Regions from separate parts of the Homo sapiens genome. Here all the other regions are linked to region 1. Evidence: promoter capture Hi-C in 16 types of primary human blood cells and fetal thymus (Javierre and others, 2016). All regions are on one chromosome and are shown on one strand. Each heading gives the region's core, a stretch centred on a gene start or on the middle of the fragment in contact. The rest is flanking DNA. Distances are from core to core; before and after follow the strand shown.

Region 1 (2,708 bases), core at 93-2,592:
GCCTCAGGTGATCCGCCTGCCTCGGCCTTCCAAAGTGTTGGGATTACAGGCGTGAGCCACCGCGCCCAGCCGAGATATTAATTTTGGATTCTACTAAGGACGACGGGAGCCAGCTCAAGGTTTTTAAGTGACTCGATCAGATTCACGAGGTTGGTTCACAAGGAACTTCGATAACCCCAAAGTCTAGTGAGCATAATTCGACTGGGAGAAGACACTGCTGCAAGGAATTCTGTGAACCAGACAGATTTGAGGGCACCAACCAGGGTGGATGGCAGATAAGGTCTTAACAGCCTCAAGGTGATTTGCTTCCTTGTTGAAGGCTTTAATTAATCCTCTTAAGTAACTTTCAAGTTCTTGAGTTCAAGTAAACACACTGGCACACTAGGGGAGGAGTGGCAGGCTATAAGCATTTTAATAATTAAAAAAAAAAAGCCTTTTATTGTTCAAAGTGTTCCTTTTCTATGGAGTGCTCCCAACCAGAAGATGAGGGAAATGGAGATAATGAAGCACGTCCCTCCTACCAAACACGATAAATTCTACAGGCACTGTAAGATCAAGAATTTAAGATTATTTTTGTCCCACCCTATTTTACAGGTGAGGTATCAAGCACAGTAACTCGTAATTTTCTTTTGGCCCAATTGAAAGGTATCATATAAGAGAAAGCTGTGTGTGCGTGAAAAGGATCCGCCTTTCTTTCTGAAGAAAAGGGTGGTTACGGCTTCGGAAACGCTTTTCAAGCCAACTCTGCAGCCCGGCTGGCGGCGGCAGCGGCGGCGGCGGCAACGTCAGATTCCCGCAGAGGCGGCGCCCGGCAGGGGCGGCAGGAGCTCAGGAGAGGCCCCCGGGGATCGGGCTGGGCCCCACGTGAGAGCTAAGCGACTGCCCTCGCGCCCGCAGAACAGCAGGGCCTGCATCGACTCTAAGGCGAGACCAGAAACTTGCTAGTGGAGCAATTCTGGTGCCCCTGCCCGGGCTGTGAACCCTCTGAGATCATCCCTCAATCAAACGAATAGAAATCCTCGGGAAGAAAAAAAAAATTGCGGCAATCCGGCTAAAATTCAGCAGCTTTCAGGGACCGATTCAGGACATTATCCCTGTGGTTCCCTCAGTGAAAGGAGACTCGAAGCGCGACTAGAAGTCGCCGGGCCCCATAGATCTGCGGTGCCCAGGCCGTAGGCGGAGGCGCGGGCAGAGGCGGCGGCGGCGGCGGCGGCGGCTGGAGGACCCGGCGCTGGGGGCGCTGAGCGGCAGCCTCGCTTCCGGAGCTCGGCGGGCGGCGTCAGCGGAACGGGCGGCTTCCGGCCGCGGCGTAAACAAGGCCGTGGACTGCAGGAGGCGGGGCAGACGGGCTGCAATAGGGAGCCGGCCCGACGCGGACCGCTTCCCTGCAGTGCCCCGAGTCCCGGGCCCGCGCCGCCGCCGCCCGGCTCCGCTCGCGGCCCCTCTGTCTGCAGGCGTGCCCCGGCGGCGGCGGAGAGCCGTCCTCGGCCGAGGAGGCTGGGAAACGCGAGCGCAGGCGGCAGAGAGGCCTCAACGCCGTCCCTTTCGCCACCGCCTTTTCCTTGCCTCGCGCCGCTGTGCATTTCTCTCCTTTTCCTTTGTTTTTTTGGCCCCTCGCGGGTGTGGGCATTGTTGGTTAGCAAAAGTGCAGCCTCAAGATGGCTGATGGCAACGAGGATCTGCGGGCTGACGACTTGCCTGGGCCAGCCTTCGAGAGCTATGAGTCCATGGAGCTTGCCTGCCCCGCTGAGCGCAGCGGCCACGTAGCCGTCAGCGACGGGCGCCACATGTTCGTCTGGGGCGGCTACAAGGTCAGTGAGTGGCCGGGCCGCGACGGACGTCGCTCGGCTGTGACTCGGGTCTGCGTTCGCGGCCAGGCGGGGAGGCCAGAGCGGGCCGCCGAGGGCGCTCCCCGCCTGCGTCGCGCGCCCCACCTCAGACTCTGCCCGTTGGTTGTTTTTTTTTTGCGCGCGGGAATCTTCCTTCTCTCGAGTACCCCAACCCGTCTCGAACCTCCAGGGCTGCTGTCATGTCACCCTGGTGCTCACAAAGCCAACTCACTCCCACCCCCGTTGTTGCCATTGGAGCGTTATTCCGGGGAAGGCCCTGTTAATGTTGCTTGGGCGGTGCATTCGGAAGGGTTGGGGTGTGAAAGGTGACGGTGTGTGATATCACTCAGACGCGTTATGAGGACGGCCTACGAGGACTTCACCCTCTGGAGCTGGGAACCGCTGCCCACTTACAGGGAGGCCGAGGTGTAGGAAAACTGGAATTCCAAAAGGTTACAGGAACCACCTTATTCAGCCTTCCCGCCTGTGCAAATGGCCATCAGGACTGTTTTCCTTCTGGCTTCAGCTGGGTTGAAGTTTTTCAGCAGACACCCCTATTAAGATAATGGAAAAGCTCCACCAGTAACCAAAAAATCCCCAGCATCAAATGAACTACAGAGTGCAGCTCTTTGACTCTCCGATCCCCTGGTTATAAACAACGTGATTAGTTAGCAGTTTAAAGCCAGTTGCCATTCTTTACCCTGCTAACCTCGGAAATCTAGAATTTTATTTGCTAGGATGGCTCTGAGCCAGTCCTACCACAAAATTCCTCTTTGGTCTTGAAAATGTTCTCCGCCCTCCCCACGCCCGTGCCTTGGATGACTTGCTTTGTGATTGTTTTTAGCTTATGGTACAGCTGACTTGATCATAGTTGACCAT
Region 2 (3,093 bases), core at 94-2,593, 360 kb after region 1:
CCAAAGTGGTAGGATTACAGGTATGAGCCACTGTGCCTGGCCAGATAAAAATTTTTTAACCTAAAATATAAAATTAAACATTTAAAAGACTAAGCTTATTTTTCTCATAAGATAGGGAAACTTGCTACTATATATTTTACTATGCTCGAAGCAGATGTTCTCCAGATTGAGAGAATTATACCCAAAGGTGCTGTGTTCATTTTTGAGTTATTTTGTTTTAAACAAATGACCACAGAAAGAAAGTTTACAGCATTAAAAGTTATAAATTATGAAATAATTAGGAATGATAGAATAGTGCTTTACTTAAAATTTACTGCTTTAATTAAATAAGATGATGTAAAAAAAAATAAGTGACTGAGGATATCCCGGGAACCTGATAAACATTTACTATATTATTGCCATGGGAAAATGATTTGAAAAGGGTAAGGAAGAAAGACAACTGACATGAAATTACTATTCATTCTATGCCAAGCAATATTTTAGATGGTGTTTTTTTGTTTGTTTGTTTTGTTGTTTTCTTTTTTTGAGATGGAGTCTCACTCCGTTGCCCAGGCTGGAGTGTGGTGGCCTGATCTCAGCTCACCACAACCTCTGCTTCCTGGGTTCAAGTGATTCTCCTGCCTCAGCCTCCTGAGTAGCTGGGACTACAGGCGTGCACCACCATATCCGGCTAATTTTTGTAATTTTTTAGTAGAGACAGAGTTTCACTATGTTGGCCAGGCTGGTCTTGAACTCCTGACCTCGTGATCCACCTGCCTTGGCCTCCCAAAGTGCTGGGATTACAGGCGTGAGCCACCACACCCGGCTAGGTGTTCTATACAGTTATTTCATTTAATCCTTAACAAGTGTGGGGAAGGTAAGTAATTTCTTCAAGGCCATACAGCCCTTAGAACAGATCATAAAAAATGATGAAAATAAACTATAGTGAAGCTTAAGTAGTACACAGTTGTAAGCAAATAATTAAATTTATTTATAACTTTTCTTGTTCTTTAATATTGCCAAAACTCAAAATACTCAAATATAATCAACCAGATTATTATCTTTACAGTCATTTCATTAAGAATCAACTTAAATTATACTTACTTGAATGTGGCAAAAGCACTGGAGCAAAGATGCTATTGCTGCCTATTGGAATAAGAAAAATTAATTTGAAAAGGAAGGTAACATGTAGGTATTATTTTTTAAATGTTTCCATAAATAATACGTAATACACAGTGCAGAATTTTATCATCATCTTTTGCCATGTTAGTTTTTTAAAAAATTAACTCAGAACCTTCTGTATCTAGAATGGTTTTCCTTCTTAGCATTAAGTGGTTCCCCCTCTATCACAGAACTTATCTATTTGTTTTCTTATTCATCATCTATTGCTCCCTTTAGACTGGTAGTGGGACCCAAAAGGTACTAAACAAATCTTTGTTGAATGAGTAAATTAGAAGATAATATGCATCAACAATGCACAAATTATGCTCTACTTCTTGTATTAATCATTATTTTCACATTTAGATATCACTTTTCACACTAATATAGTTTGCAAAGGATTCTATAGTTCCCTAATTAAAATGATAAGAATTATCTGAGACACAGGATTCCTTTTTTACCAAGCGGTTTACATCAAATACTTACCACAGGAGCTGTTGAGATCCACATCTAAAAATACACTAAGGTCTGAAGAAGCAGATACTGGTGGAGTAGATGGTGTATTTGGAGAGGTTGGTGCTGACACTGTTGATTCCAGCTCAGTTTCAGCAATCCGACTAAAGCTTATTTTACATGGTTCTCTTTCTAATGGTGTTGGGTGACCTCGTAAAGTACCTGAGGTAGAGCCATGTCGGCCTGTGTTAGGCCTTATTCCAGGAGATTTTAAGGAAAAAGTTGATTTCCTAGGCTGAGAAAAGCAAACATAATTAATGTCACAAATTTGCATAGACAACAATTTGTTTCTGTGACTTAGAGCTACCTTATTAGTCTTATTAGTTCTTAAGCATACAGTTCTTAAGCGTGCAGTCCTTCAGTCTGCAATGACAGCCTGTATCATTCTAGTAGAATCTTCTGGATTTGACTGGCTTAATTTTAAAATGAATTGGAATATAAGTAAGTCTCTTTTCAGCACTGCAGAAATAAAATTCTTGAAATTTTATGTGAAAATCACATTTTACTCCTAAAACATATGAACCTAAACTTCTCTTTGAAAATATCTATATAGATTTTACAAACATTTACTGGGAACATAATTTATGAAACATATTATGCTATATGCTTCAGAAAAAAAAAAGATCATTTTTTCCCCTTCCTATACTAAATGATCAACCTCTACATTGATGCTTTAAAAATCTTTGGAGAAAATTCCTATCATTGTCTCCCACCATCACCTCTGTCCCATTTTTCAAGTTCTGGCAGGAGTAATCAAATAAAAAACACAGAACTCAGATCAGAAAACTTGAGTTAAGATCTCAACTGTGCCAATATCTAGCTATGCAGCCTTGAAAAACTTATTTAACCCCTTGGAATCTCACTATTTTCCTTTGTAAAATGAGAATAAGATCTATGAGGGGTTTTCAAAAAGTGCATGGCAAATGTCTATTATGAAATAACTATGCATGACTTTCATTTTTTTCCATCAAAATAAACTCATACTAACTTATTATAACATGTCTGAACAGTTTGAGATGCTCAAACATATCTAGTTTGAGATACTCAAACATATCTAGTTTGAGATACTAAGAAGGATAACACATCGGTTTGTAAAGAATCCCTATCAGAGGAACACGAATTCTGCTAAAATTGAAGCAAGAACAAATATCAAATCCATGATGATGCTTGGGTAGAAGAATGGTGAGATCACTAATACTTTATGAAAAGTTTATGGGGACAATGCCCCAAAGAAATCAGCTGTTTACAAATTGATAACTCATTTTTAACAAGGGATCAGATGATATGGAAGGTAAAGCCAATGGCGGCAGATCATCAACATCAATTTCTGAGGAAAAAATCTCATTCCTGCTCTAATTGAAGAGGACCTATGATTAACAACAGAAATGATAGCCAACACCACAGATATCTCAACTGGTTCAGCTTATACAATTCTGACTGAAA
Region 3 (2,723 bases), core at 89-2,588, 410 kb after region 1:
GGAGGATTACCTGAAGTCAAGAGTTTGAGAACAGCCTGGCCAACATGGGGAAACCCCATCTCTACTAAAAATACAAAAATTAGCCAGGTGTGGTGGCATGCGCCTGTAGTCCCAGCTACTTAGGAGGCTGAGGCAGGAGGACTCCTTAAACCCAAGAGGCAGAGGTTGCAGTGAGCCAAGATCGCGCCACTGCACTCCAGCCTGGGTGAAAGAGCGAGATTCCGCCGCAAACAAACAAACAAAACTATTAATTGGCCCAAAGCCTTAAGTTCTAACTTCAAATCTTATTTTTTTAAGTCTGCTACACAGTCCAGGTATGGTGCCTCATGGTCAACAGAACAGCCTAGCCAATATGGTGAAACTCTGTCTCTACCAAAAAAATACCAAAATTAGCCAGGCGTGGTGGTCCACACTTGTAGTCTCAGTCACTCAAGAGGCTAAGGCAGGAGAATCGCTTTAACCCGGGAGGCGGAGGTTGCAATGAACTGAGACTGTGCCACTGCACTCCAGCCTGGGCAACAGAGTGAGACCCTGTCTCTAAATAAATAAATAAATAAAGTACGCTACACAGCTTCTAAAGATGCTTTTTGTTTTTAGTTTTATTAAGGAAGCATTATTTTATCTTAAACTGAATGAATTTTTTTTTAAGTTAAAACAATTGAGTTTGGCCCGAAAAAGGATTTCATCTAACTCTTCCAATTTCACTGAATATCTAGGATGACAGCTTTATTAATAACTGGGCCCTTTAACATTCAAATTCCACAGCAAAAATTCCTAATAAAATAGGACTGAAACAAGAAATGTGTTGAGTGCTTTTAATGAGTATCCAAAGTTCTTATAGACTGTGTATTTAATGCATACTTTATATGAATATATGAGTTAACTTTAAAAATATTCCTCTCTTGAAGTAATTTTGAGAATTAAGTATAATTTGTATTCCATGATAACAAATTTTTGACAATAGAGAAGTGGAAGATAATAAACAATGGGAATTTATAGTACAGAAGGCAGGGAGAAGATGGTAAGTTCAGTTTTAAACATGTCATATTTGAAGTGCGTTTAGGGTATCCAAGTGCATCAATTCAAGGCAGCTGGTTATATGAAAGTGTATAGATACATACACATATGTACACGGTACACAGTGCTTAAAAGAAAGTGATGGCCTGGAAATACAAATAAGAAGTCACCAGTATATAGACATGAAGTCACCCAAGGAGAGCACAGAACAGAAAAACAGGGGCTGATAACAGAAGTTGGATAATAGCTATAATAATTAAGAGACTTAGAAGAAGAAATCAGAGAAGACGAAAATTGGGAACATGTAGTATCACAGGAGCTGATATGGTTTGATTTTGTGTCCCCGTCCAAATCTCATGTTCAACTGTAATCCCCAATTTTGGAGGTGGGGCCTAGTGGGAGGTAACTGGATCATGGGGGTGGATTTCTTCCTTTAATGCTGTTCTTGTAATAGAGTTCTCAGGAGATCTAGTTGTTTAAAAGTGTGTGGCACCTCCCTGCTCCTTCCTCTTGCTTTGACCATGTGAAGACGTGCCTGCTTCCCTTTTGGCTTCCGCCATGATCGTAAGTTTCCTGAGGCCTCCCCAGCCGTGCTTCCTGTAGAGCCTGTGGAACTCTGAGCCAATTAAATCTCTTTTCTTTATAAATCACCCAGTCTCAGTCTTCTTTTTCTTTTTTTTGTTGAGACAGAGTCTCACTCTGTAGCCCAGGCTTGAGTGCAGTGTTGCAATCTCGGCTCACTGCAACCCCCACCTCCTGGGTTCAAGTGATCCTCCTGCCTCCAAGTGATCCTCCTGCCTCTGCCTCTGTAGTAGCTAGAACTACAGGTGTGCACCACCATGCCCGCTAGTGTGTGTGTGTGTGTGTGTGTGCATATATATATATATATATATATATATATATATATATATATACACACATATACACACACATATATATATATATATTTTTTGGAGACAGGGTCTTGCTCTGTCACCTAGGCTGGAGTGTAGTGGCACGATCTCGGCTCACTGCAACCTCCGCCTCCCGGGTTCAAGCAATTCTCCTGCCTCAGCCTCCCGAGTAGCTGGGATTACAGGTGCATGCCACCACACCCAGCTAATTTTTGCATTTTTTAGTAGAGACAGGGTTTCGCCAGGCTGGCAAGGCTGGTCTGGAACTCCTGACCTCAGGTGATCCGATCCACCCACCTCAGCCTCCCAAAGTGCTGGGATTACAGGCATGAGACATCACGCCCAGCCTTCAGGTATACAGGAACCAAGAGATAAGAGCAGTAACAAATACTACAGACATTAAGTATGAAATAAAAATATCCACTGGATTTGGCAATTAAGTTACTTGTCAAAGGCAATTTATATCCTGATTAAAACATACATGGTAGTGTTTTCATAAAGAATGGTAAAAAATAATATAAAGACAATTGGCTGCAAAGAAAAAATGAGAGAGGAAATGAAAAAACTTTCTTCACTCTAGTTAATTATTCTACTAGAGTGAAGAAAGGTTTGTTCATTTGTTTGCTTGTTTGTTTCAGGACTATAAGGATTTTTACCATATTCAAACGTCAAGGGGTAAAAGCCAGTTTATTTTTTATTTTTATTTTTTTTGAGACTGGGTCTCACTCTGTACCCAAGGCTGGAGTGCAGTGGCGTGATCATGACTCATTGCAGCCTTGACCTCCCAGGCTCAAGCAATTCTCCTGGCATGCC

What was found. Contacts are between HindIII fragments. The CHiCAGO score rates a contact against its expected background, and 5 or more counts as called.
Region 2: a fragment that was not itself captured here is called in contact with the fragment with the promoter of KLHDC2 in region 1 in 2 of 17 cell types (naive CD4 T cells and fetal thymus); the score reaches 5.8 in naive CD4 T cells.
Region 3: a contact is called between a fragment that was not itself captured here and the fragment with the promoter of KLHDC2 in region 1, in 1 of 17 cell types (total B cells). The highest score is 5.3, in total B cells.

What each region holds. Positions count from the first base shown.
Region 1 is chr14:49,766,811-49,769,518 of GRCh38, forward strand. It overlaps KLHDC2 (kelch domain containing 2), which reads left to right and starts at 1,343. Exons shown (of 13, transcript NM_014315.3): 1 at 1,343-1,811. The coding sequence starts at 1,659. RefSeq lists silencers at 743-802, 1,143-1,222, 1,393-1,572. The HindIII fragment of the contact is 13,494 bases long and covers 1-2,708 here.
Region 2 is chr14:50,128,878-50,131,970 of GRCh38, forward strand. SOS2 (SOS Ras/Rho guanine nucleotide exchange factor 2) reads right to left here. Exons shown (of 23, transcript NM_006939.4): 20 at 1,624-1,885; 21 at 1,084-1,125. Among named protein-coding and RNA genes, the nearest start is that of VCPKMT, 14 kb to the left of the region's middle. The HindIII fragment of the contact is 830 bases long and covers 929-1,758 here.
Region 3 is chr14:50,176,782-50,179,504 of GRCh38, forward strand. All of the region lies in intron 7 of SOS2 (SOS Ras/Rho guanine nucleotide exchange factor 2), which reads right to left. Among named protein-coding and RNA genes, the nearest start is that of SOS2, 53 kb to the right of the region's middle. The HindIII fragment of the contact is 5,834 bases long and covers 1-2,723 here.